3 separate regions of the Homo sapiens genome follow, and regions 1 and 2 are each linked to region 3. Evidence: promoter capture Hi-C in 16 types of primary human blood cells and fetal thymus (Javierre and others, 2016). All regions are on one chromosome and are shown on one strand. The core of a region is centred on a gene start or on the middle of the fragment in contact, and the rest is flanking DNA. Distances in the headings are between cores, read along the strand shown. Region 1 overlaps SOS2 (SOS Ras/Rho guanine nucleotide exchange factor 2). Region 2 overlaps SOS2 (SOS Ras/Rho guanine nucleotide exchange factor 2). Region 3 holds the start of KLHDC2 (kelch domain containing 2).

Evidence for each region. The method cuts DNA at HindIII sites, captures the fragments that hold promoters and counts their contacts. A CHiCAGO score of 5 or more calls a contact.
Region 1: a contact is called between a fragment that was not itself captured here and the fragment with the promoter of KLHDC2 in region 3, in 1 of 17 cell types (total B cells). The highest score is 5.3, in total B cells.
Region 2: a fragment that was not itself captured here is called in contact with the fragment with the promoter of KLHDC2 in region 3 in 2 of 17 cell types (naive CD4 T cells and fetal thymus); the score reaches 5.8 in naive CD4 T cells.

Annotation. Positions count from the first base shown.
Region 1 is chr14:50,176,867-50,179,706 of GRCh38, reverse strand. The region is part of intron 7 of SOS2 (SOS Ras/Rho guanine nucleotide exchange factor 2); the gene reads left to right. Among named protein-coding and RNA genes, the nearest start is that of SOS2, 53 kb to the left of the region's middle. The HindIII fragment of the contact is 5,834 bases long and covers 1-2,840 here.
Region 2 is chr14:50,128,475-50,131,506 of GRCh38, reverse strand. SOS2 (SOS Ras/Rho guanine nucleotide exchange factor 2) reads left to right here. Exons shown (of 23, transcript NM_006939.4): 20 at 745-1,006; 21 at 1,505-1,546. Among named protein-coding and RNA genes, the nearest start is that of VCPKMT, 13 kb to the right of the region's middle. The HindIII fragment of the contact is 830 bases long and covers 872-1,701 here.
Region 3 is chr14:49,766,774-49,769,473 of GRCh38, reverse strand. It overlaps KLHDC2 (kelch domain containing 2), which reads right to left and starts at 1,321. Exons shown (of 13, transcript NM_014315.3): 1 at 853-1,321. The coding sequence starts at 1,005. RefSeq lists silencers at 1,092-1,271, 1,442-1,521, 1,862-1,921. The HindIII fragment of the contact is 13,494 bases long and covers 1-2,700 here.

The DNA.
Region 1 (2,840 bases), core at 338-2,837, 410 kb before region 3:
TGGCTAAATATGTAAAACTTCTACATCTAAACTGACTTTTCCAGCCAGACGTGGTGGCTCTTGCCTATAATCCCAGCACTTTGGGAGGCTAAGGTCAGAGGATTGCTTGGACCCAGGTGTTTGAGACCAGCCTGGGCAAAATAGGGAGACCTCATCTCTACAAAATATAAAAACTTAGCCGAGTGTGGTGGCGTGCACCTGTGGCATGCCAGGAGAATTGCTTGAGCCTGGGAGGTCAAGGCTGCAATGAGTCATGATCACGCCACTGCACTCCAGCCTTGGGTACAGAGTGAGACCCAGTCTCAAAAAAAATAAAAATAAAAAATAAACTGGCTTTTACCCCTTGACGTTTGAATATGGTAAAAATCCTTATAGTCCTGAAACAAACAAGCAAACAAATGAACAAACCTTTCTTCACTCTAGTAGAATAATTAACTAGAGTGAAGAAAGTTTTTTCATTTCCTCTCTCATTTTTTCTTTGCAGCCAATTGTCTTTATATTATTTTTTACCATTCTTTATGAAAACACTACCATGTATGTTTTAATCAGGATATAAATTGCCTTTGACAAGTAACTTAATTGCCAAATCCAGTGGATATTTTTATTTCATACTTAATGTCTGTAGTATTTGTTACTGCTCTTATCTCTTGGTTCCTGTATACCTGAAGGCTGGGCGTGATGTCTCATGCCTGTAATCCCAGCACTTTGGGAGGCTGAGGTGGGTGGATCGGATCACCTGAGGTCAGGAGTTCCAGACCAGCCTTGCCAGCCTGGCGAAACCCTGTCTCTACTAAAAAATGCAAAAATTAGCTGGGTGTGGTGGCATGCACCTGTAATCCCAGCTACTCGGGAGGCTGAGGCAGGAGAATTGCTTGAACCCGGGAGGCGGAGGTTGCAGTGAGCCGAGATCGTGCCACTACACTCCAGCCTAGGTGACAGAGCAAGACCCTGTCTCCAAAAAATATATATATATATATGTGTGTGTATATGTGTGTATATATATATATATATATATATATATATATATATATATATGCACACACACACACACACACACACTAGCGGGCATGGTGGTGCACACCTGTAGTTCTAGCTACTACAGAGGCAGAGGCAGGAGGATCACTTGGAGGCAGGAGGATCACTTGAACCCAGGAGGTGGGGGTTGCAGTGAGCCGAGATTGCAACACTGCACTCAAGCCTGGGCTACAGAGTGAGACTCTGTCTCAACAAAAAAAAGAAAAAGAAGACTGAGACTGGGTGATTTATAAAGAAAAGAGATTTAATTGGCTCAGAGTTCCACAGGCTCTACAGGAAGCACGGCTGGGGAGGCCTCAGGAAACTTACGATCATGGCGGAAGCCAAAAGGGAAGCAGGCACGTCTTCACATGGTCAAAGCAAGAGGAAGGAGCAGGGAGGTGCCACACACTTTTAAACAACTAGATCTCCTGAGAACTCTATTACAAGAACAGCATTAAAGGAAGAAATCCACCCCCATGATCCAGTTACCTCCCACTAGGCCCCACCTCCAAAATTGGGGATTACAGTTGAACATGAGATTTGGACGGGGACACAAAATCAAACCATATCAGCTCCTGTGATACTACATGTTCCCAATTTTCGTCTTCTCTGATTTCTTCTTCTAAGTCTCTTAATTATTATAGCTATTATCCAACTTCTGTTATCAGCCCCTGTTTTTCTGTTCTGTGCTCTCCTTGGGTGACTTCATGTCTATATACTGGTGACTTCTTATTTGTATTTCCAGGCCATCACTTTCTTTTAAGCACTGTGTACCGTGTACATATGTGTATGTATCTATACACTTTCATATAACCAGCTGCCTTGAATTGATGCACTTGGATACCCTAAACGCACTTCAAATATGACATGTTTAAAACTGAACTTACCATCTTCTCCCTGCCTTCTGTACTATAAATTCCCATTGTTTATTATCTTCCACTTCTCTATTGTCAAAAATTTGTTATCATGGAATACAAATTATACTTAATTCTCAAAATTACTTCAAGAGAGGAATATTTTTAAAGTTAACTCATATATTCATATAAAGTATGCATTAAATACACAGTCTATAAGAACTTTGGATACTCATTAAAAGCACTCAACACATTTCTTGTTTCAGTCCTATTTTATTAGGAATTTTTGCTGTGGAATTTGAATGTTAAAGGGCCCAGTTATTAATAAAGCTGTCATCCTAGATATTCAGTGAAATTGGAAGAGTTAGATGAAATCCTTTTTCGGGCCAAACTCAATTGTTTTAACTTAAAAAAAAATTCATTCAGTTTAAGATAAAATAATGCTTCCTTAATAAAACTAAAAACAAAAAGCATCTTTAGAAGCTGTGTAGCGTACTTTATTTATTTATTTATTTAGAGACAGGGTCTCACTCTGTTGCCCAGGCTGGAGTGCAGTGGCACAGTCTCAGTTCATTGCAACCTCCGCCTCCCGGGTTAAAGCGATTCTCCTGCCTTAGCCTCTTGAGTGACTGAGACTACAAGTGTGGACCACCACGCCTGGCTAATTTTGGTATTTTTTTGGTAGAGACAGAGTTTCACCATATTGGCTAGGCTGTTCTGTTGACCATGAGGCACCATACCTGGACTGTGTAGCAGACTTAAAAAAATAAGATTTGAAGTTAGAACTTAAGGCTTTGGGCCAATTAATAGTTTTGTTTGTTTGTTTGCGGCGGAATCTCGCTCTTTCACCCAGGCTGGAGTGCAGTGGCGCGATCTTGGCTCACTGCAACCTCTGCCTCTTGGGTTTAAGGAGTCCTCCTGCCTCAGCCTCCTAAGTAGCTGGGACTACAGGCGCATGCCACCACACCT
Region 2 (3,032 bases), core at 37-2,536, 360 kb before region 3:
AGTTTATTTTGATGGAAAAAAATGAAAGTCATGCATAGTTATTTCATAATAGACATTTGCCATGCACTTTTTGAAAACCCCTCATAGATCTTATTCTCATTTTACAAAGGAAAATAGTGAGATTCCAAGGGGTTAAATAAGTTTTTCAAGGCTGCATAGCTAGATATTGGCACAGTTGAGATCTTAACTCAAGTTTTCTGATCTGAGTTCTGTGTTTTTTATTTGATTACTCCTGCCAGAACTTGAAAAATGGGACAGAGGTGATGGTGGGAGACAATGATAGGAATTTTCTCCAAAGATTTTTAAAGCATCAATGTAGAGGTTGATCATTTAGTATAGGAAGGGGAAAAAATGATCTTTTTTTTTTCTGAAGCATATAGCATAATATGTTTCATAAATTATGTTCCCAGTAAATGTTTGTAAAATCTATATAGATATTTTCAAAGAGAAGTTTAGGTTCATATGTTTTAGGAGTAAAATGTGATTTTCACATAAAATTTCAAGAATTTTATTTCTGCAGTGCTGAAAAGAGACTTACTTATATTCCAATTCATTTTAAAATTAAGCCAGTCAAATCCAGAAGATTCTACTAGAATGATACAGGCTGTCATTGCAGACTGAAGGACTGCACGCTTAAGAACTGTATGCTTAAGAACTAATAAGACTAATAAGGTAGCTCTAAGTCACAGAAACAAATTGTTGTCTATGCAAATTTGTGACATTAATTATGTTTGCTTTTCTCAGCCTAGGAAATCAACTTTTTCCTTAAAATCTCCTGGAATAAGGCCTAACACAGGCCGACATGGCTCTACCTCAGGTACTTTACGAGGTCACCCAACACCATTAGAAAGAGAACCATGTAAAATAAGCTTTAGTCGGATTGCTGAAACTGAGCTGGAATCAACAGTGTCAGCACCAACCTCTCCAAATACACCATCTACTCCACCAGTATCTGCTTCTTCAGACCTTAGTGTATTTTTAGATGTGGATCTCAACAGCTCCTGTGGTAAGTATTTGATGTAAACCGCTTGGTAAAAAAGGAATCCTGTGTCTCAGATAATTCTTATCATTTTAATTAGGGAACTATAGAATCCTTTGCAAACTATATTAGTGTGAAAAGTGATATCTAAATGTGAAAATAATGATTAATACAAGAAGTAGAGCATAATTTGTGCATTGTTGATGCATATTATCTTCTAATTTACTCATTCAACAAAGATTTGTTTAGTACCTTTTGGGTCCCACTACCAGTCTAAAGGGAGCAATAGATGATGAATAAGAAAACAAATAGATAAGTTCTGTGATAGAGGGGGAACCACTTAATGCTAAGAAGGAAAACCATTCTAGATACAGAAGGTTCTGAGTTAATTTTTTAAAAAACTAACATGGCAAAAGATGATGATAAAATTCTGCACTGTGTATTACGTATTATTTATGGAAACATTTAAAAAATAATACCTACATGTTACCTTCCTTTTCAAATTAATTTTTCTTATTCCAATAGGCAGCAATAGCATCTTTGCTCCAGTGCTTTTGCCACATTCAAGTAAGTATAATTTAAGTTGATTCTTAATGAAATGACTGTAAAGATAATAATCTGGTTGATTATATTTGAGTATTTTGAGTTTTGGCAATATTAAAGAACAAGAAAAGTTATAAATAAATTTAATTATTTGCTTACAACTGTGTACTACTTAAGCTTCACTATAGTTTATTTTCATCATTTTTTATGATCTGTTCTAAGGGCTGTATGGCCTTGAAGAAATTACTTACCTTCCCCACACTTGTTAAGGATTAAATGAAATAACTGTATAGAACACCTAGCCGGGTGTGGTGGCTCACGCCTGTAATCCCAGCACTTTGGGAGGCCAAGGCAGGTGGATCACGAGGTCAGGAGTTCAAGACCAGCCTGGCCAACATAGTGAAACTCTGTCTCTACTAAAAAATTACAAAAATTAGCCGGATATGGTGGTGCACGCCTGTAGTCCCAGCTACTCAGGAGGCTGAGGCAGGAGAATCACTTGAACCCAGGAAGCAGAGGTTGTGGTGAGCTGAGATCAGGCCACCACACTCCAGCCTGGGCAACGGAGTGAGACTCCATCTCAAAAAAAGAAAACAACAAAACAAACAAACAAAAAAACACCATCTAAAATATTGCTTGGCATAGAATGAATAGTAATTTCATGTCAGTTGTCTTTCTTCCTTACCCTTTTCAAATCATTTTCCCATGGCAATAATATAGTAAATGTTTATCAGGTTCCCGGGATATCCTCAGTCACTTATTTTTTTTTACATCATCTTATTTAATTAAAGCAGTAAATTTTAAGTAAAGCACTATTCTATCATTCCTAATTATTTCATAATTTATAACTTTTAATGCTGTAAACTTTCTTTCTGTGGTCATTTGTTTAAAACAAAATAACTCAAAAATGAACACAGCACCTTTGGGTATAATTCTCTCAATCTGGAGAACATCTGCTTCGAGCATAGTAAAATATATAGTAGCAAGTTTCCCTATCTTATGAGAAAAATAAGCTTAGTCTTTTAAATGTTTAATTTTATATTTTAGGTTAAAAAATTTTTATCTGGCCAGGCACAGTGGCTCATACCTGTAATCCTACCACTTTGGGAGGCTGAGGCAGGAGTATCACTTGAGGTCAGGGCAACATAGCAGTTCAAGACTAGCCTGGGCAACATAGCAAGACCCTGTCCTCCCTACCAAAAAAAAATTTATCAAAGTGACATATTAATAGAATTTAAAAGGGAAATAGTGCTAAGACACTTAAAATGAAATTAACAGTGGTTCTCTACCTCAAGTCTCCCCACTCCTTTTCTTGTTCTCCAAGGACACTTCCACATTTCTAAATGATGTTTTTGTAGTCTCTCTTGAGTCATTAATTTTAGACAATGTTTACTGATCTCCTCTTATGGTGGATGAGAATTTCATGTCTACCCTGCCTATACTTAACCACATTTGGGGCAAATATTATTCACTGCTATGCTTCCTTTCTTGTATAGCTCTGTTTCCTGGA
Region 3 (2,700 bases), core at 72-2,571:
TCACAAAGCAAGTCATCCAAGGCACGGGCGTGGGGAGGGCGGAGAACATTTTCAAGACCAAAGAGGAATTTTGTGGTAGGACTGGCTCAGAGCCATCCTAGCAAATAAAATTCTAGATTTCCGAGGTTAGCAGGGTAAAGAATGGCAACTGGCTTTAAACTGCTAACTAATCACGTTGTTTATAACCAGGGGATCGGAGAGTCAAAGAGCTGCACTCTGTAGTTCATTTGATGCTGGGGATTTTTTGGTTACTGGTGGAGCTTTTCCATTATCTTAATAGGGGTGTCTGCTGAAAAACTTCAACCCAGCTGAAGCCAGAAGGAAAACAGTCCTGATGGCCATTTGCACAGGCGGGAAGGCTGAATAAGGTGGTTCCTGTAACCTTTTGGAATTCCAGTTTTCCTACACCTCGGCCTCCCTGTAAGTGGGCAGCGGTTCCCAGCTCCAGAGGGTGAAGTCCTCGTAGGCCGTCCTCATAACGCGTCTGAGTGATATCACACACCGTCACCTTTCACACCCCAACCCTTCCGAATGCACCGCCCAAGCAACATTAACAGGGCCTTCCCCGGAATAACGCTCCAATGGCAACAACGGGGGTGGGAGTGAGTTGGCTTTGTGAGCACCAGGGTGACATGACAGCAGCCCTGGAGGTTCGAGACGGGTTGGGGTACTCGAGAGAAGGAAGATTCCCGCGCGCAAAAAAAAAACAACCAACGGGCAGAGTCTGAGGTGGGGCGCGCGACGCAGGCGGGGAGCGCCCTCGGCGGCCCGCTCTGGCCTCCCCGCCTGGCCGCGAACGCAGACCCGAGTCACAGCCGAGCGACGTCCGTCGCGGCCCGGCCACTCACTGACCTTGTAGCCGCCCCAGACGAACATGTGGCGCCCGTCGCTGACGGCTACGTGGCCGCTGCGCTCAGCGGGGCAGGCAAGCTCCATGGACTCATAGCTCTCGAAGGCTGGCCCAGGCAAGTCGTCAGCCCGCAGATCCTCGTTGCCATCAGCCATCTTGAGGCTGCACTTTTGCTAACCAACAATGCCCACACCCGCGAGGGGCCAAAAAAACAAAGGAAAAGGAGAGAAATGCACAGCGGCGCGAGGCAAGGAAAAGGCGGTGGCGAAAGGGACGGCGTTGAGGCCTCTCTGCCGCCTGCGCTCGCGTTTCCCAGCCTCCTCGGCCGAGGACGGCTCTCCGCCGCCGCCGGGGCACGCCTGCAGACAGAGGGGCCGCGAGCGGAGCCGGGCGGCGGCGGCGCGGGCCCGGGACTCGGGGCACTGCAGGGAAGCGGTCCGCGTCGGGCCGGCTCCCTATTGCAGCCCGTCTGCCCCGCCTCCTGCAGTCCACGGCCTTGTTTACGCCGCGGCCGGAAGCCGCCCGTTCCGCTGACGCCGCCCGCCGAGCTCCGGAAGCGAGGCTGCCGCTCAGCGCCCCCAGCGCCGGGTCCTCCAGCCGCCGCCGCCGCCGCCGCCGCCTCTGCCCGCGCCTCCGCCTACGGCCTGGGCACCGCAGATCTATGGGGCCCGGCGACTTCTAGTCGCGCTTCGAGTCTCCTTTCACTGAGGGAACCACAGGGATAATGTCCTGAATCGGTCCCTGAAAGCTGCTGAATTTTAGCCGGATTGCCGCAATTTTTTTTTTCTTCCCGAGGATTTCTATTCGTTTGATTGAGGGATGATCTCAGAGGGTTCACAGCCCGGGCAGGGGCACCAGAATTGCTCCACTAGCAAGTTTCTGGTCTCGCCTTAGAGTCGATGCAGGCCCTGCTGTTCTGCGGGCGCGAGGGCAGTCGCTTAGCTCTCACGTGGGGCCCAGCCCGATCCCCGGGGGCCTCTCCTGAGCTCCTGCCGCCCCTGCCGGGCGCCGCCTCTGCGGGAATCTGACGTTGCCGCCGCCGCCGCTGCCGCCGCCAGCCGGGCTGCAGAGTTGGCTTGAAAAGCGTTTCCGAAGCCGTAACCACCCTTTTCTTCAGAAAGAAAGGCGGATCCTTTTCACGCACACACAGCTTTCTCTTATATGATACCTTTCAATTGGGCCAAAAGAAAATTACGAGTTACTGTGCTTGATACCTCACCTGTAAAATAGGGTGGGACAAAAATAATCTTAAATTCTTGATCTTACAGTGCCTGTAGAATTTATCGTGTTTGGTAGGAGGGACGTGCTTCATTATCTCCATTTCCCTCATCTTCTGGTTGGGAGCACTCCATAGAAAAGGAACACTTTGAACAATAAAAGGCTTTTTTTTTTTAATTATTAAAATGCTTATAGCCTGCCACTCCTCCCCTAGTGTGCCAGTGTGTTTACTTGAACTCAAGAACTTGAAAGTTACTTAAGAGGATTAATTAAAGCCTTCAACAAGGAAGCAAATCACCTTGAGGCTGTTAAGACCTTATCTGCCATCCACCCTGGTTGGTGCCCTCAAATCTGTCTGGTTCACAGAATTCCTTGCAGCAGTGTCTTCTCCCAGTCGAATTATGCTCACTAGACTTTGGGGTTATCGAAGTTCCTTGTGAACCAACCTCGTGAATCTGATCGAGTCACTTAAAAACCTTGAGCTGGCTCCCGTCGTCCTTAGTAGAATCCAAAATTAATATCTCGGCTGGGCGCGGTGGCTCACGCCTGTAATCCCAACACTTTGGAAGGCCGAGGCAGGCGGATCACCTGAGGCCAGGAGTTCGAGACCAGCCTGGCCAAAATGGCGAAAC